Linked DNA regions of Homo sapiens: region 2 is linked to region 1. Evidence: promoter capture Hi-C in human tissues and cell types (Jung and others, 2019). All regions are on one chromosome and are shown on one strand. Each heading gives the region's core, a stretch centred on a gene start or on the middle of the fragment in contact. The rest is flanking DNA. Distances are from core to core; before and after follow the strand shown. Region 1 holds the start of MC4R (melanocortin 4 receptor). Region 2 has its middle 59 kb from the start of LINC03111.

Region 1 (7,574 bases), core at 2,981-5,480:
TTGAAGTAAGAAGAGTGAAACTTGCAGCATTTTAACTAGACATATTTTCCCATTCCAAACTCACCAGCTCTGCAGTAGCTTTGACAACTAACATCCTATAAAAATGTTTAAAAGCATCAGTCTAGCAGGAAATGGAGGGTGCAAAATGGGGTTGGATCTTCTTCAAAGCTCCATTCCCGTTACCAGAGATGCCATCATTATTTTGACCTATCTGTTGGTTTCCTGACAAACTCTACTTGCAGGGGTTTCTTATTTGACCTAACTCAGAACTCACCCACGGAGAACAGTCTTTTCCTCAGGGACATTTGTTGGAAACAATCAGAACAACTGCTTAACATCATGGCTGCCTAAGGCAATGGATAGAAGTTGGCGAAAAAAAATCAGCTATTCAAAAAGCCTAAAAGAAAAAGCTCAAGAAAATGAGATGTCCATAGGAATTTATTAAAACTCTAATATATTCCTGAGAATCTAGAAAGCCGTACAAACATGCAGGACTGTGCTTATGATCAGAAACAACAACAACAACAACAAAAACTAAGAAGGTCTTGACTTCTCACCTCTGGCTGACCTTTGTGGCTGTGTGTAAGCAGAAGGTAAGGCCAAGGCAGAGTTGCCCAGTGCCTGGCTAAGTGTCAAAGGCATGCCCATCATGGACACAGAGTCTCTCAGCAATGACTAGGGGAGATGTTAGTTCCTGACATCTAAGGAAATCTCTGTCCACTTATCAGCTGACCAATAAGCTATCAGAGCAGAGACCTCATTGATCATACAAGACAAAGAATACAGACATTCTAGAATTATTTAAGAAAAATTACTGAACAACAACAATAACAAACAACAACAACAACAAACCCTGGGTAAGAGAGAAAATCTGATTTTCAGGGTTGCTGGATTGTGTTATTCAAAATTCCCCGTTTCTAACAAAAATGAATAAATAAAATGCAGGCAAATAAATAAGAAAATATAGCCCATACACATTAGGAAAAGGAAGTCAGCAGAAATTATTCCTGGGGAAGTCTAGATGTTGCACTTAATATATAAAGCCTTTAAATCAGTTCAAACATGTTCAAAGGATTAGCGAAAACTATACGTAAAAATTAAAGGAAATTATGAGAACAATTTCTCATCAAACAGAAGATATCAAAATATAAGTGTAAACTTTAATAACCATGGGTTAGGCAATCCTTTTTTAAATATGATCCCAAAAGCTCAGGCAACCAAAAAAATTTGATAAATTTAACATCATCGTAATTAAAAGGTTTGTGGTTTCAAGAACACTATCAATAATTGAAATGGCAAAAGTACCCAGAATATGTAAAGAGCCACTACAACTCAATAATTTAAAAAAATCCAATTAAAAATGAGCAAAGGATTTGAATAGGCATTTCTCCAAAGATTATTACACAAGTAACTGGTAAGGATGTAAAATCATCTTCAGTATCATTAGGCATTAGGGAAATGAAAATCAAAAGTATAATGAGAGTTCACTTCATATCCTTATGATGGCTAAAATAAAAAAGATGGACAATAGCAAGTGCTAGCAAGAATGTGAAGAGATTTGAACCCTCATACATTGCTAACTGGAAATGTCAAATGGTGCAGCCACTTCAGAAAACAGTTTGGCAGTTCCTCAAAACAAGAAACAGAGTTATCATATGATTCAGCAATTCCATTCCTGGTTGTGTATCCAAAAGAATTGAAATCATCTGTCACATAAGAATTTGTCCATAAATATTCCTAGCAGCATAATTCGTGATAGCCAAAACTGGAAATAACCCAAATGTTCCTCAACTGATGAATACATTTAAAAATATAATGTATACAGCCAGGTGCAGTGGTTCATGCCTGTAATCCCAGCACTTTGGGAGGCCGAGGCGGGCGGATCATGAGGTCAGGAGATCGAGACCACGGTGAAACCCCGTCTCTACTAAAAATACAAAAAATTAGCAAGGTGCGGTGGCGGGCACCTGTAGTCCCAGCTACTTGGGAGGCTGAGGCAGGAGAATGGCGTGAACCCAGGAGGCGGAGCTTGCAGTGAGCTGAGATTGCACCACTGCACTCCAGCCTGGGTGACAGAGCGAGACTCCGTCTCAAAAAAAAAAAAAAAAAAAATATATATATATATAAATGTATACATACAATGGAATATTACTCAGCCATAAAAACAAATCAAAACTGGGCACAGTGGCTCATGCCTGTAATCTCAGCACTTGGAGAAACCGAGATGGGAATATCGTTTGAGCCCAAGAGTTTGAGACCAGCCTGGACAACATAATGAGATTCAATCTCTACAAAATTATTTTTTAAAAGCTAGCTGGGTGTGGAGGTACATTTAGTTCCAGCTACTCAGGAGGCTGAAGTAGGAGGATCACTTGAACCTAGTGAGCCATGATCATGCCACTGCACTCCAGCCTGGGTGACAGAGCAAGATCCTGTTTTAATTTTTTAAAAATCAAATTCTGATTCACATTATAGTGTAAGCAAACCTTGAAAATATTATGCTACATGAAAACAGTGAGCCACAAAAGGCCACATATTGCATTATTTCAATCATATAAAATGTCTAAAATAGGCACATTGATAGAGACAGAAAGTAGATTAGCAGTTCCTAGAGGATAAGGAAAGGGTAAAATGGGGAGCAACTGCTAATGGGATAATGAAAATGTTTTAGAAATAGAAAGTGATGATTATGGCACAACTCTGTGAATATATTCCCCCAAAAATCCATTTAATTACTAAAGAGGTGATTTTTTTTGGTATGTGAATTATATGTCAATTTTTAAAAAGAGAAAAAATAAGGCAAGAGGAAGGTAAGATTATTTCCAGCTCATGATGTTCAGGAAAGCCCATTCCAGCATTTTACAATATACAGATGATTAGGCATTCAGAAATACAGGGGAAGGGAGTTGGAGGTGTGAGTTCTGCTCTGTGCAATCATTCAAGAGACAGGCTCCTTTCATGATATGGTCCTGCCACCTGTAACATGAGATTTCAAAGACAGGAGAGAAAACTTGTGTAAAATTATGAAAGAGCTAATGCGATGAGCCCCACTGTCAACATGCCATTAGCTAGAATTTAGTCATAAGGTCCTACCCAATTCCAAAGGTGGATGGAAGACGTTAATTTATCTCAATGCTCAGGAACAATACTTAGTATTGTCTCTGTCACAAAAGGAAAGAGGATACATTCCCAACCTAAGTAACTGAGATTCAGAATTAACCCTGAAATAAGCAGCTACAAACTATAGAGCACTAAAACCAAAAATAATCATAGAAGAAAAGAATATACAAAATTTTGTATAATCTGTTGTTCAGTTAATTTGGAAAGTAACTTTGCTGCCATCTTTCAAACCACCTTAAGCAAAATATTCAGAAACTTCAATAACTAACTAGTATCACCAGTCTTGGCTTGATAAGTAAAGTTACTAGGTATTTGTCGGTTCAACTTACGATACGTTAAACTCTGGAGGTTTAAAAAAAAGTTGCTTAAAAAAAAAAAACAGAATGCAGCTTATTATTTTCCTGAGTTCAGTGTAAGCATAGTTACATTAATGCCGTATGAGTTTAAAATATTGTAAATAAAAAGCACCTTTTTTCAGCTATAACACAAACTCCTCAATAGAGAAATATGGGATATTAGTGCATTAAAATCAACCCCTTTTGAACCCATTCATAATTTATAGCTACCTACATAGTTCTTCCAGCCATACCATGTCTATCTGTATCATTAAATATCCTCTCTGTTTTTCAGGTATTTTAACTGAACCACTACTGGCTGGGTTCTTAATAAAAACAAAAAATTAAGAAGGTAAATAAATTCAGTATCCTAGCCAAAAAGCAGAGTATCTGTTTCAGGAACATAAGACAGTATACTTTCCATTTCATTTTACACACACACATGATGTCTTTTACATAAGAATGAACCTGGCTGCCTGAAGATAGCTTGTTTTGATATCACAGAATGGCCTCTAGGGATCAAGTTGTTTCCCTTGAAAACTTAAAAAGGGAAATTCAGTCTCTTATCCGGCTTGCTTCTCGACTTCAGACTTCAGGAGCTTCTGCATCTGAATCTGTGTCACCCTGCAATTTGTGTCTCTGAAACATAATCCTGTCTCACAGACTCCCATTGCATTGGGATTGGTCAGAAGGAAGCAGAGGAGGAGCCACCGTGAACATGTTTTTTTTCTCTCCACACATCATAAAAATCAGCAGCTGGCGCCTACAGCCCCTAACACTCAAAGCAACGCTCAGGCTGGAAACAGAAGCTTCCGAGAGGCAGCCGATGTGAGCATGTGCGCACAGATTCGTCTCCCAATGGCATGGCAGCTTCAAGGAAAATTATTTTGAACAGACTTGAATGCATAAGATTAAAGTTAAAGCAGAAGTGAGAACAAGAAAGCAAAGAGCAGACTCTTTCAACTGAGAATGAATATTTTGAAGCCCAAGATTTTAAAGTGATGATGATTAGAGTCGTACCTAAAAGAGACTAAAAACTCCATGTCAAGCTCTGGACTTGTGACATTTACTCACAGCAGGCATGGCAATTTTAGCCTCACAACTTTCAGACAGATAAAGACTTGGAGGAAATAACTGAGACGACTCCCTGACCCAGGAGGTTAAATCAATTCAGGGGGACACTGGAATTCTCCTGCCAGCATGGTGAACTCCACCCACCGTGGGATGCACACTTCTCTGCACCTCTGGAACCGCAGCAGTTACAGACTGCACAGCAATGCCAGTGAGTCCCTTGGAAAAGGCTACTCTGATGGAGGGTGCTACGAGCAACTTTTTGTCTCTCCTGAGGTGTTTGTGACTCTGGGTGTCATCAGCTTGTTGGAGAATATCTTAGTGATTGTGGCAATAGCCAAGAACAAGAATCTGCATTCACCCATGTACTTTTTCATCTGCAGCTTGGCTGTGGCTGATATGCTGGTGAGCGTTTCAAATGGATCAGAAACCATTGTCATCACCCTATTAAACAGTACAGATACGGATGCACAGAGTTTCACAGTGAATATTGATAATGTCATTGACTCGGTGATCTGTAGCTCCTTGCTTGCATCCATTTGCAGCCTGCTTTCAATTGCAGTGGACAGGTACTTTACTATCTTCTATGCTCTCCAGTACCATAACATTATGACAGTTAAGCGGGTTGGGATCATCATAAGTTGTATCTGGGCAGCTTGCACGGTTTCAGGCATTTTGTTCATCATTTACTCAGATAGTAGTGCTGTCATCATCTGCCTCATCACCATGTTCTTCACCATGCTGGCTCTCATGGCTTCTCTCTATGTCCACATGTTCCTGATGGCCAGGCTTCACATTAAGAGGATTGCTGTCCTCCCCGGCACTGGTGCCATCCGCCAAGGTGCCAATATGAAGGGAGCGATTACCTTGACCATCCTGATTGGCGTCTTTGTTGTCTGCTGGGCCCCATTCTTCCTCCACTTAATATTCTACATCTCTTGTCCTCAGAATCCATATTGTGTGTGCTTCATGTCTCACTTTAACTTGTATCTCATACTGATCATGTGTAATTCAATCATCGATCCTCTGATTTATGCACTCCGGAGTCAAGAACTGAGGAAAACCTTCAAAGAGATCATCTGTTGCTATCCCCTGGGAGGCCTTTGTGACTTGTCTAGCAGATATTAAATGGGGACAGAGCACGCAATATAGGAACATGCATAAGAGACTTTTTCACTCTTACCCTACCTGAATATTGTACTTCTGCAACAGCTTTCTCTTCCGTGTAGGGTACTGGTTGAGAATATCCATTGTGTAAATTTAAGCCTATGATTTTTAATGAGAAAAAATGCCCAGTCTCTGTATTATTTCCAATGTCATGCTACTTTTTTGGCCATAAAATATGAATCTATGTTATAGGTTGTAGGCACTGTGGATTTACAAAAAGAAAAGTCCTTATTAAAAGCTTAACAATGTCTCCTTCGTGTTATTCATAAGCATTGGACACTTTGCGTGCTTTCGTAACATAGAAATCAGAGCCTCATTAAACATATTCTAATAAATGCTTTATTATATTATATTATCCACCATTGAAATGTAGAGAGTTCATTCTAGCAGTTAAGGGAAAATATTTAAAGAATAGATGTATAATCATTTTTAAAAATATCATCACTGAAATTTCAAGTAATTTAATTAAAGGTTTGTTCATCCTCCCTGTGCAGAAGTAGAAATGAAGCTCCTCTAGAGAGAAAAACAGGTGCTGAAAAAAGAGAGATGCTGAGTTAGAAAACTATGTGTACTTCTCAGACACAGAAAGATTCATCTCCCTTAGCAAACAGCCTGATATTTCACACAGGCAATTCGGTTTGGGGTGGGTGGGAAAAGGCAGCTATAGGGATGAAAGTGTCCTGGAAAACCTAAGTTGCCATGTCAAGCTAAATTTCCTGTTACCAAATTATCCCTAAACAATATTAATAAAACAGAGAATGGGGATTTATGCCCCCTTTAAACAAGGATTCAGGGTCTGCTGAAGTGTCCAGAAAAGGTAATATTGTACTGAGAGATTTAGCTTCCTGTTTCTAGAGAAGTACAGGACTGACATCGAATTCTTTCTCATTTCACATGAAAATGACTTGCTGTTTACTTATTGCTGATTTTTTGAACTGGAGTACAAATGTTGATTATCAAGGATTTTAAACTTCAAAACCAAATTCATAGCAGAAGTGTTTTCTGGCAATATTTGTAAATAACTAAAATAAAGGTATCTGTGATGCTGGTACATTTTAAGCAGGAAGGGAGGCACCTACCAAACCCCAGAGGATGTCATGCAATAAACTAGCCTTCCACAGCCACTTCTTGAAGAGTAAAATGTTTTGCTCCAAAATAATCCTACAGATTTGGCCACTGAGCAATAAAATTTGTACTGTACTTTCTAATCTGTGTGTAATTTAAAATAAAGCAAAAGAATATATTAGGTTGAGGATTACCAGTAAACTATCTTAGGATTTACAGGGTCTTCAAATGCTCATGGGCAGAAGTCATATGCAAAGGTACTCCTTAACTCAAATCTAAATGTTTTACACTGATTATAAGACCCAAGAAACACTTTCAACATTCATCTGAAAACACTACCTTAAAGGATAATAGTGAAGTTAAAGTTTACACATAAGAAGTGGTACTAAAGCTGAAATTTTAATTCCACTGCAATTCCTCTATTTTGAAGCAAAAGTGAATGTGAGGATTTAAATATACACTAATCTAACAATCATAGTCTATAGCAGTAGAGGGACACAGTTATGTTTTTTTCATTGCTACGTTTCCTGTCCATTCTTTCATTTCATGAATCTGAAAAATCCCAGGGACTAGAGATATGAAAAAGAGAGCTATGAGCACACCCCATCTTCTGTGGTGGCTGCCCTTCCCAGTTTATCCTATTTCTCCTCCAAGTGCCATCTCAGATCCTGGCTCCTCCTTCTTCAGGTTCATACCTTCTCCTGGAGTGGTTTACAGTGTTAGGGTGTGTATAATTCATGAACGAGCCATATAACAGCACCCTCCCCTATATGCCATGGTACCATATTGGACTTCAGCTCCTTTAAGTGCAGAGAC
Region 2 (7,574 bases), core at 2,595-5,094, 310 kb after region 1:
AACATGCAAAACTACCATTATTTTAACCAGTCTACTGTTTTGATTGCTTTGATTATTCCTGATCGCATCAATGCTATATAAAATGATTACTGGAAACAGCCACCAAAACAAAGTTCTGGTTATGTAAGCTAAGTGAGTGCTGGAAGAAAATTGCAAGCAGCTCTTGTTTTCTAAATCTATGTGCATGAGTTTTCCAGGACTGTAATAACAAATTACCACAAACCAGGTGGCTTAAAACAACAGAAATTTATTCCCTCATTGTTTTGGAGACTAGAAGTCAAAAATTTCTTGTTAACAGGGTCAGGCTCCCTCTACTGGCTCTAGGGAACGATCCTTCCCTCTGTCCTCACTTTTGGTGGGAGCCAGCATTCCTTCACTTGTAGCTTCATCCCTCCAATCTGCCTCCATCTGCATACGGCCTTCTCCCCTGTGTGACTCTGTCTCTTCATATGATGTTTTCCTCTCTGCATATCTTTGTGTCCAAAGTTCCCCATTTCTCTTTTCCTTGTAAGGAAAGAGTCATTGGATTTAGGGCCCACCCTAATCCATTGTGACCTCATCTTAACTTGATCACATTTTCAAAGACTTTATTTCTGTAAGATCACATTCACTAGTACAGGGGGTTAGGGCTTCAACATATTCAGACAAAAGGGGGAAGCATAATTTAACCCACAATACATGTGAACCTTAAAATAAGGGAGCATTCTAGTCATCAACAAGGCATCGGATCCTGTAGCTGAGCAGCAGCAAAAAAGACCTGGGAGTCTTGCAGCAGGTAAAAGTTCAGAAATGGCCCATTCAGAGTGGCTCAGAAACTGGGTTAAAGCTGAGTCCGTAGGAGGCAAGATCAGTGGGCTGGAATGTGGGGAAGTGGGAACAGGGCAACTAGGGCTGGGCTGACCCAACTACCCTATTTACTCACCCCATCTTCACACACAAATCCCATCCATCCTGTAAAGTACAGAGGTTAGTCCCATAAAGTCATCTCTTAAAATTCATCTAGGCCAGGTATGGTGGCTCACACCTGTAATCCCAGCACTTTGGGAGGCTGAGGCAGGCAGATCACCTGAGCTTGGGAGTTCAAGACCAGCCTGACCAACATGGAGAAACCCCGTCTCTACTGAAAATACAAAATTAGCCGAGTGTGCTGGCACATGCCTGTAATCCCAGCTATTTGGGAGGCTAAGGCAGGAGAATCACCTGAACCTGGGAGGCAGAGGTTGTGGTGAGGTAAGATCACGCCTTTGCACTCCAGCCTGGGCAACAAGAGCGAAACTCCCTCTCAAAAAAAAAAAAAAATTCATCTAACTAACACTTATCTCTTTAAATTCCTGTGGTGTGCTCCATCTATCACAACTTCATTTAAATATTGTATTACAAGCTGTCTTTTCATATATTTTAATTGTCTTATCTCTTCAATAGTCTTGCAAGATGCTTGAGATTAGATGCTGCACCTGATTTTTCTTTGTTATCTCCTAACAGCAACCATCTCAATGCTGGGCATTTAGAAACTATCTGTTGCATATAAAACATCTATTGAAGAAAATAATTATTGACTTGACTAAGAGAAGGTGACTAAGCCTCCAACAGAAGATGCCTCCGACAGATCCAGCGCATAATGAGCAGAGCAGGTGACCTGGAGTCTGATCTCCGGAGTCATCACTTCTAACCTTGGAGGAAATCCACGATGGCTCTCTCACTTGTATTCATCTCCCATCTGCAGCCACTCTATAAATTACTCTCTCCATGTAATCTTTGTTTGACATTTCTCTTCCCCAAGCAGGATTTCAGTCACACACTTTGAGGTTTTATATAGAAGCTAGACTCAGAACACACAAGAGGTTGCTGTGAGAACGAGCATTTGTGTGGTCCAAGCACAGCCTGCAATTTTGCACTCAGTCAGCACCTAGGAGGAAAAAGCCCCGTGCACTTCAGCTGTATCTTCCAAGAGTGCCAACACGGCTGCCCCATGAAGCCAACCTTCCCCTGTGAATGAATAGGCAACCTGAGATGCAATGAGTTTCCAAAGCCAGACCTGAATACAGCCCGGATTGCTAGCAGAAACCTGCCTAGACTAATTCACAGTCACCATTTGACTGCATTCTCCTGCCTCTCAGCTAACAAAGGCATTATCTCCCAGCACTTCTAAGAGCTAAATTGCTCTTTTAACAGCAATTATAAGAGTGCTAACAAAAAGCTAAAGATTTGGAGAATCAATGTGCTTCTTTTACTTCTAAATCATTGTATCAGATTTCCTCCTTGAATTATAATTTTATGCTGTTAATGAAGAAAATGCCTCCTTTCAGAGCACTGAATAAGAAAGGTACATTTTTGTACATTCTAAGCCTCCTTTTAAGAAAAATCACTTTTATCTCTCCATTTTATGGGCATAAAGAGGGAAATCATATTTTGAATAATTACAGGAAACAGTCTGCTACAAATGGTATATGTGATAAAATACCTGTTAGCTACAATTAAGTTAAAATTTTAGGGAAAATCACAAAGTAGATCAATTTATTCCCACACATCATTCTCCAACTTCATGTACAATTAATTAGAGGATAATGTGAAATATAAGCATGGAGCCATGTGCTTTTATTGCATTTCAACTAAAATCCTTGGTCCTTACTGTCAGAGGCATGTGAACAACAGCAACTGCATCTTGAATAGGAACTACATAAAATGAGGCTGAAACCTATTGAGCTGCATTCCCAGACAGTAAAGGCATTCTAAATCACGGAATGAGATAGGAGGTCAGCATAAGATACAGACCTTGCTGATAAAACAGGTTGCAGTAAAGAAACCGGCTAAATCTCCAAGATGGCCACGAAAGTACCTCTGGTCATCCTCACTATTACACTCCCATCAGGGCCATGAGAGTTTACAAATGCCATGGCAATGTCAGGAAGTCACCATTTATGGTCTAAAAAGGAGAGGCGTGAATAATCCACCCCTTGTTTAGCATATCAACAAGAAATAACCATAAAAATGGGCAACCATCAGCCCTCAGGCCTGCTGTCTATGGAGTAACCATTCTTTTATTCCTTCATTTTCCTAATAAACTTGCTTTCACTTTACTGACTCTCCCTGAATTCTTTCTTGTGCGAGATCCAAGAACCCTCTTTTGAGGTCTGGACCCGGACCCCTTTCCTGTAATGTTACTATCTCTGATTTCATGATTCTGATGTTTAAATTACTTGTAAAATAAATCCCTATTTAATAGTATCTGTGACTATACCACATAAATATTTCATCAGTTAGGGCTATTCTTGTGCAATAAACAGTTGATAGACTTAAGCCCGCCAGATACAGTATTTATCTGCAATTAAAATGTATCATGTAATTTTTTTTTTTTTTTTTTTTTTTTTTTGAGACAGGGTCCCTCTCTGTCACATAGGCTGCAGTGCAGTGGTGTGATTATTGCTCACTGCAGACTCGACCTCCTGGCTCAAGGGATTCTCCCATCCCGGCACAACCTCCTACCCCTGCCAACCCTCTAGTAGCTGGGACTAAAGGCACACTCTACCATGCCCAGCTAATTTTTGTATTTTTGTGTTTTGTTTGTCTGTTTGTTTGTTTGTTTTTGTAGAAATGGGGTTGTGCCATGTTGCTCAGGCTGATTTCAAACTCCTGGGCTCGAATCTCAGCTTCCCGAAGTGTTGGAATTACAGGTCTGAGCCACTGCACCAGGTCTGACAATGTTTCTATTTTTAAGATGTTGTCAAAAGAGGTGAACCTCACTTTGACTGTGAGGTTTTTGAAAGACTTGGAAAAGAAATTGATTTATATAAGCTTGTCCAACCCATGGCCTGCAGGCTACATGCAGCCCAGAACAGCTTTGAATGTGGCCCAACATGAATTCCTAAACTTTCTTAAAACATTATGAGATTTTTTTGCAATCTTTTCTTCTCATCAGCTATCATTAATGTTATATGTATTTTACTTACATGTGGCCCAATACAATTCTTCTTCCAATGTGGCCAGGGAAGCAAAAAGATTGGACACCCCTGGATTAATAGGTACCTTAGTTTCAGAGTAATTCTTTTCTAATACAGTTCATCTATTATTTAAAAGGAAATAGAGTGAATGTCTTTGAAAGTATAATCAGAGAAGAGCCAGCTGTAATCGTCAAAATTTTGTAATCCAAGAAAGAGTCCACCAGTATTATTAAAGCCACCCTGCAACTCATTGGCCAGTGATCTGAGAAACAACTCTATGCTAGTTTTACTTTTCTCTTTGAAATACTTTCTACAGATTTCAAAGTCAGTAAAATTACATATTCTTTTAAAATTTTTTATTTAACCCTAATGCAACTAGGTTGTTCAACAATATTTCTTCTACTGTCTGATCCACAAAAATAATAAACACAACACATATTCAAATTTGATGAGTAAGGCGTGCCTGGTTTCATGGTGTGCCAGACTAAAAGGAAAATGTAAAGAAAACAGATCTAGAAGACCAAGAACAGAGAACTTGAACTAGTTTTCAGGTTTTTTTGGTTTTTTGGCGGGGGGGGGGGTTTGGTTTTTTGTTTGTTTCTTTAAGATGGAGTCTCACTCCGTCGCCCAGGCAGGAGTGCAGTACTGCAATCTTGGCTTACTGCAATCTCTGCCTCCCAGGTTCAAGAGATTCTCCTGCCTCAGCCTCCTGAGTAGCTGGGATTACAGGTAACTGCCACCACACCCAGCTGTTGAACTAGTTTTAGTGATAATTTCTCCATTCAAATCATTATAGTACAAACTAGAATATTCATAGTGGAATAGTGAATTTAAATTCATAGTGGAATAGTGAATAAGATTCCACTAGAGTATTCATAGTGGAATAGTGAATTTAGATTTAACTTAGCAGTGTGCATGGGGGGTTGAATCAACTATCTGAGATATGGCAACAAGAGTTTCCATGTAGTGATAAGACATAGGAAAGGGATTGTAAACAATGTGATTCCAAGAGGATCTATTTTGAACCGGATTCTAGTACACAGCTGAAAATATAGAGATAATTCAGGCAAACATTGAGAAAAAGATTGTCAAAGTTAACTAGGGGAAAATATGGAAGGCTTTCAAGACAGAGATCCAGTCTTAAAGAGAGGACTAACTGGAGGACAAATGGAGGGCCTGAGCCAGCATCTCAGTCATGGATGAGCAACACGGAAAGCCTATGCTTCCTTGGTTCTGCAGATTTACCCCAGGCACACTGGCAATTGTGCCTACAGCAGATTGAGTCATTCAAGACCATTAACCATTAATGTGAAGATGGTTTTCACATCATTCAGGATTGACTTGGGAACTGTGGGTGGTAAACTGAGGGGTGATGAGTAAGCCTAAAGCAATGAGTAAATAAACTGATTCCAGAATTTAAAATGGGGCCAATTTCATTGTGAGGATTAAGAAGGCAAGTAATAATATATACCATCCAACACAACAGATGACACAGTAATTATTTTGATTGAACTTTGGAATATAGCTTATAGTTGGTTCATCATTCATCAATTTGTGGTTCTGCTATCTACTATTATCTACTATTCTATCTACTCCCAAAAGAAGAGAAAGGTCTTATGTATTTATGTGCATTTATTTAGAAAAATCTCTCATGGTTGTATACATATTTATAGTTACATGTAAAATAAAATGCATAGATCACTGTACCTGGAATGCTACCATTTATGTAAAGAAGGGATGAAAATAAGATAAATTTCTGTTTTCTTCTATATGCATTAAAAAATCTCTGGCATAAGGAGCCTGAGGCAGGAGGATAGCTTGAGCCCAGGAGTTCAAGGCTGCACAATCCAGCCTGGGTGACATAGCAAGACCTGTCTCAAAGAAGAAAAATCTCTGGCAAGATCAGCAAGGCATGCAGGAACAAAAACCCAATATATAGGGGCAGGAATGAGAGAGAGAGACTTCTCAATGTATATTCACTTTCTACTTTTGGAAATTTTATTTATGTAATTGTTTCCTCTTTAAAAAGTAAAGCATTTTAAAATATAAAGATACTTAATGTATGTATTTAAATGTTTATTTTAAAATATGCGAAATAAATAAACAGGAGCCATGTTATGAAGAAGAATAATGAAGATGAAAGCACTGAAAAAGAAAAAGGTGGGAGAGTCTTAAGATACTTATTGTTTGGTGGCAAAAAAAGTTTGATTTGAATTCCCTGGAAGTCAAGGAATCAAGGAAAACAAGATAAGTTATATAACAATCATTATTCATAAACAGAACCACATTGCCCAATTTCCCTACTGAATAGCCTGAGTATGGGTCCCACAGGGCAAAGCCTGGGGACAGGAGCATCTATTACCTAGAGCTCTGGGTGCATTAAAATTAGAGATGAGAAAAAATAAGAGTCAAATAGTGTAGTACTTTGCACTACATCAACTTGGCTGGGCTGAAACCAAACTTCCCAGAACTCTTTCCCTATAGGATCTGTATTAGTCAGTTCTCACACTGCTAATAAAGACATACCTGAGACTGGGTAATTTATAAAGGAAAGAGGTTTAATTGGCTTACAGTTCCACTGGGCTGGGGAGACCTCAGGAAACTTACAATTATGGTGAAAGAAGGAGCAAACACATCCTTTTTCACATGGCAGCAAGGAAGAGAAGAATGAGAGCCAAGTGAAGAGGGAAGCCCCTTATGAAATCATCAGATCTTGTGAGAACTTACTCACTATCACAAGAATAGCATGGGGGAAACCACCCCCAGGATTAAGTTACCTCCCACCGAGTCCCTCCCACCACACGTGGGGATTATGGGAACTACAATTCAAGATGAGACTTGGGTGGGGACACAGCCAAACCATATCAGAACCGTAAGTTAGACTTAGCTGACAAGGAATTCTGAGTGAGATTTGGATGCCAGAAGTGAAGTAGCAGCCATTACTCCATAGGGTCAATGTGGTAGATATAGCAAGAGACAAAGCAGAGGTACCAATAGATTCCAGGTCGTCTCACTCTCCTCCACTTCAGCTCTTCTTCCCAGTTGCCAGGCTGTGTTCAAGAGCGACCCAAGAACCACCACCAGACACAGAAGCAACATGATCCCATCCCAGCAAAACTGCCTGGCTTCCCAGAGTTTTTGCAAGCTCTGACTTGTCCTCCCATGCCATGCTTCAGAGCTGGTTACCAACTTTTCTTTGATCCTCCAATTCCCTCTTTGGAACCTTATTTCCCCACTTTGCCAGTAAGGTTTTATCCCAATAATACATCTCTAAGCCATAACCTTCAGAGGGTTTTTGCTTCCATAATTGACCCTGGCTAATACAATTGATATGGGCCACAGTTAGCAGTCCTAAAGCACATGTCCAAGAGGTTGTCAGTATACTGGCCTGAGGATTCAGTCAGGTAAGAATCAGAGAAAATTAAAAGGTCAGGTGAATAAAAGAACAAGGAGACAAGAGAAAAGAAAAGAGGACCAAGAAGATAAACAAGAAGATCATCTGGAGAAAGCATTTATATGGGTGTTAAGGGGTGATGAAATGGGCATAATAATATATGTATTTCATTGATTGTTGTAAGTCAATACATGTAAAGATGTTAGCACAGGGCTTGGGAACTGTGGGTGGTGAACTGAGGG

What was found. Contacts are between HindIII fragments. The study calls those that stand out against the background at their distance.
Region 2: a contact is called between a fragment that was not itself captured here and the fragment with the promoter of MC4R in region 1, in 2 of the 25 tissues and cell types used here (small bowel and spleen).

Annotation. Positions count from the first base shown.
Region 1 is chr18:60,369,431-60,377,004 of GRCh38, reverse strand. MC4R (melanocortin 4 receptor) reads left to right here and starts at 4,230. Exons shown (of 1, transcript NM_005912.3): 1 at 4,230-5,943. The coding sequence starts at 4,656. The coding sequence ends at 5,654. The HindIII fragment of the contact is 8,670 bases long and covers 1-5,098 here.
Region 2 is chr18:60,062,100-60,069,673 of GRCh38, reverse strand. No RefSeq gene overlaps it. Among named protein-coding and RNA genes, the nearest start is that of LINC03111, 59 kb to the left of the region's middle. RefSeq lists enhancers at 1,805-2,356, 2,676-3,212. The HindIII fragment of the contact is 4,514 bases long and covers 1,588-6,101 here.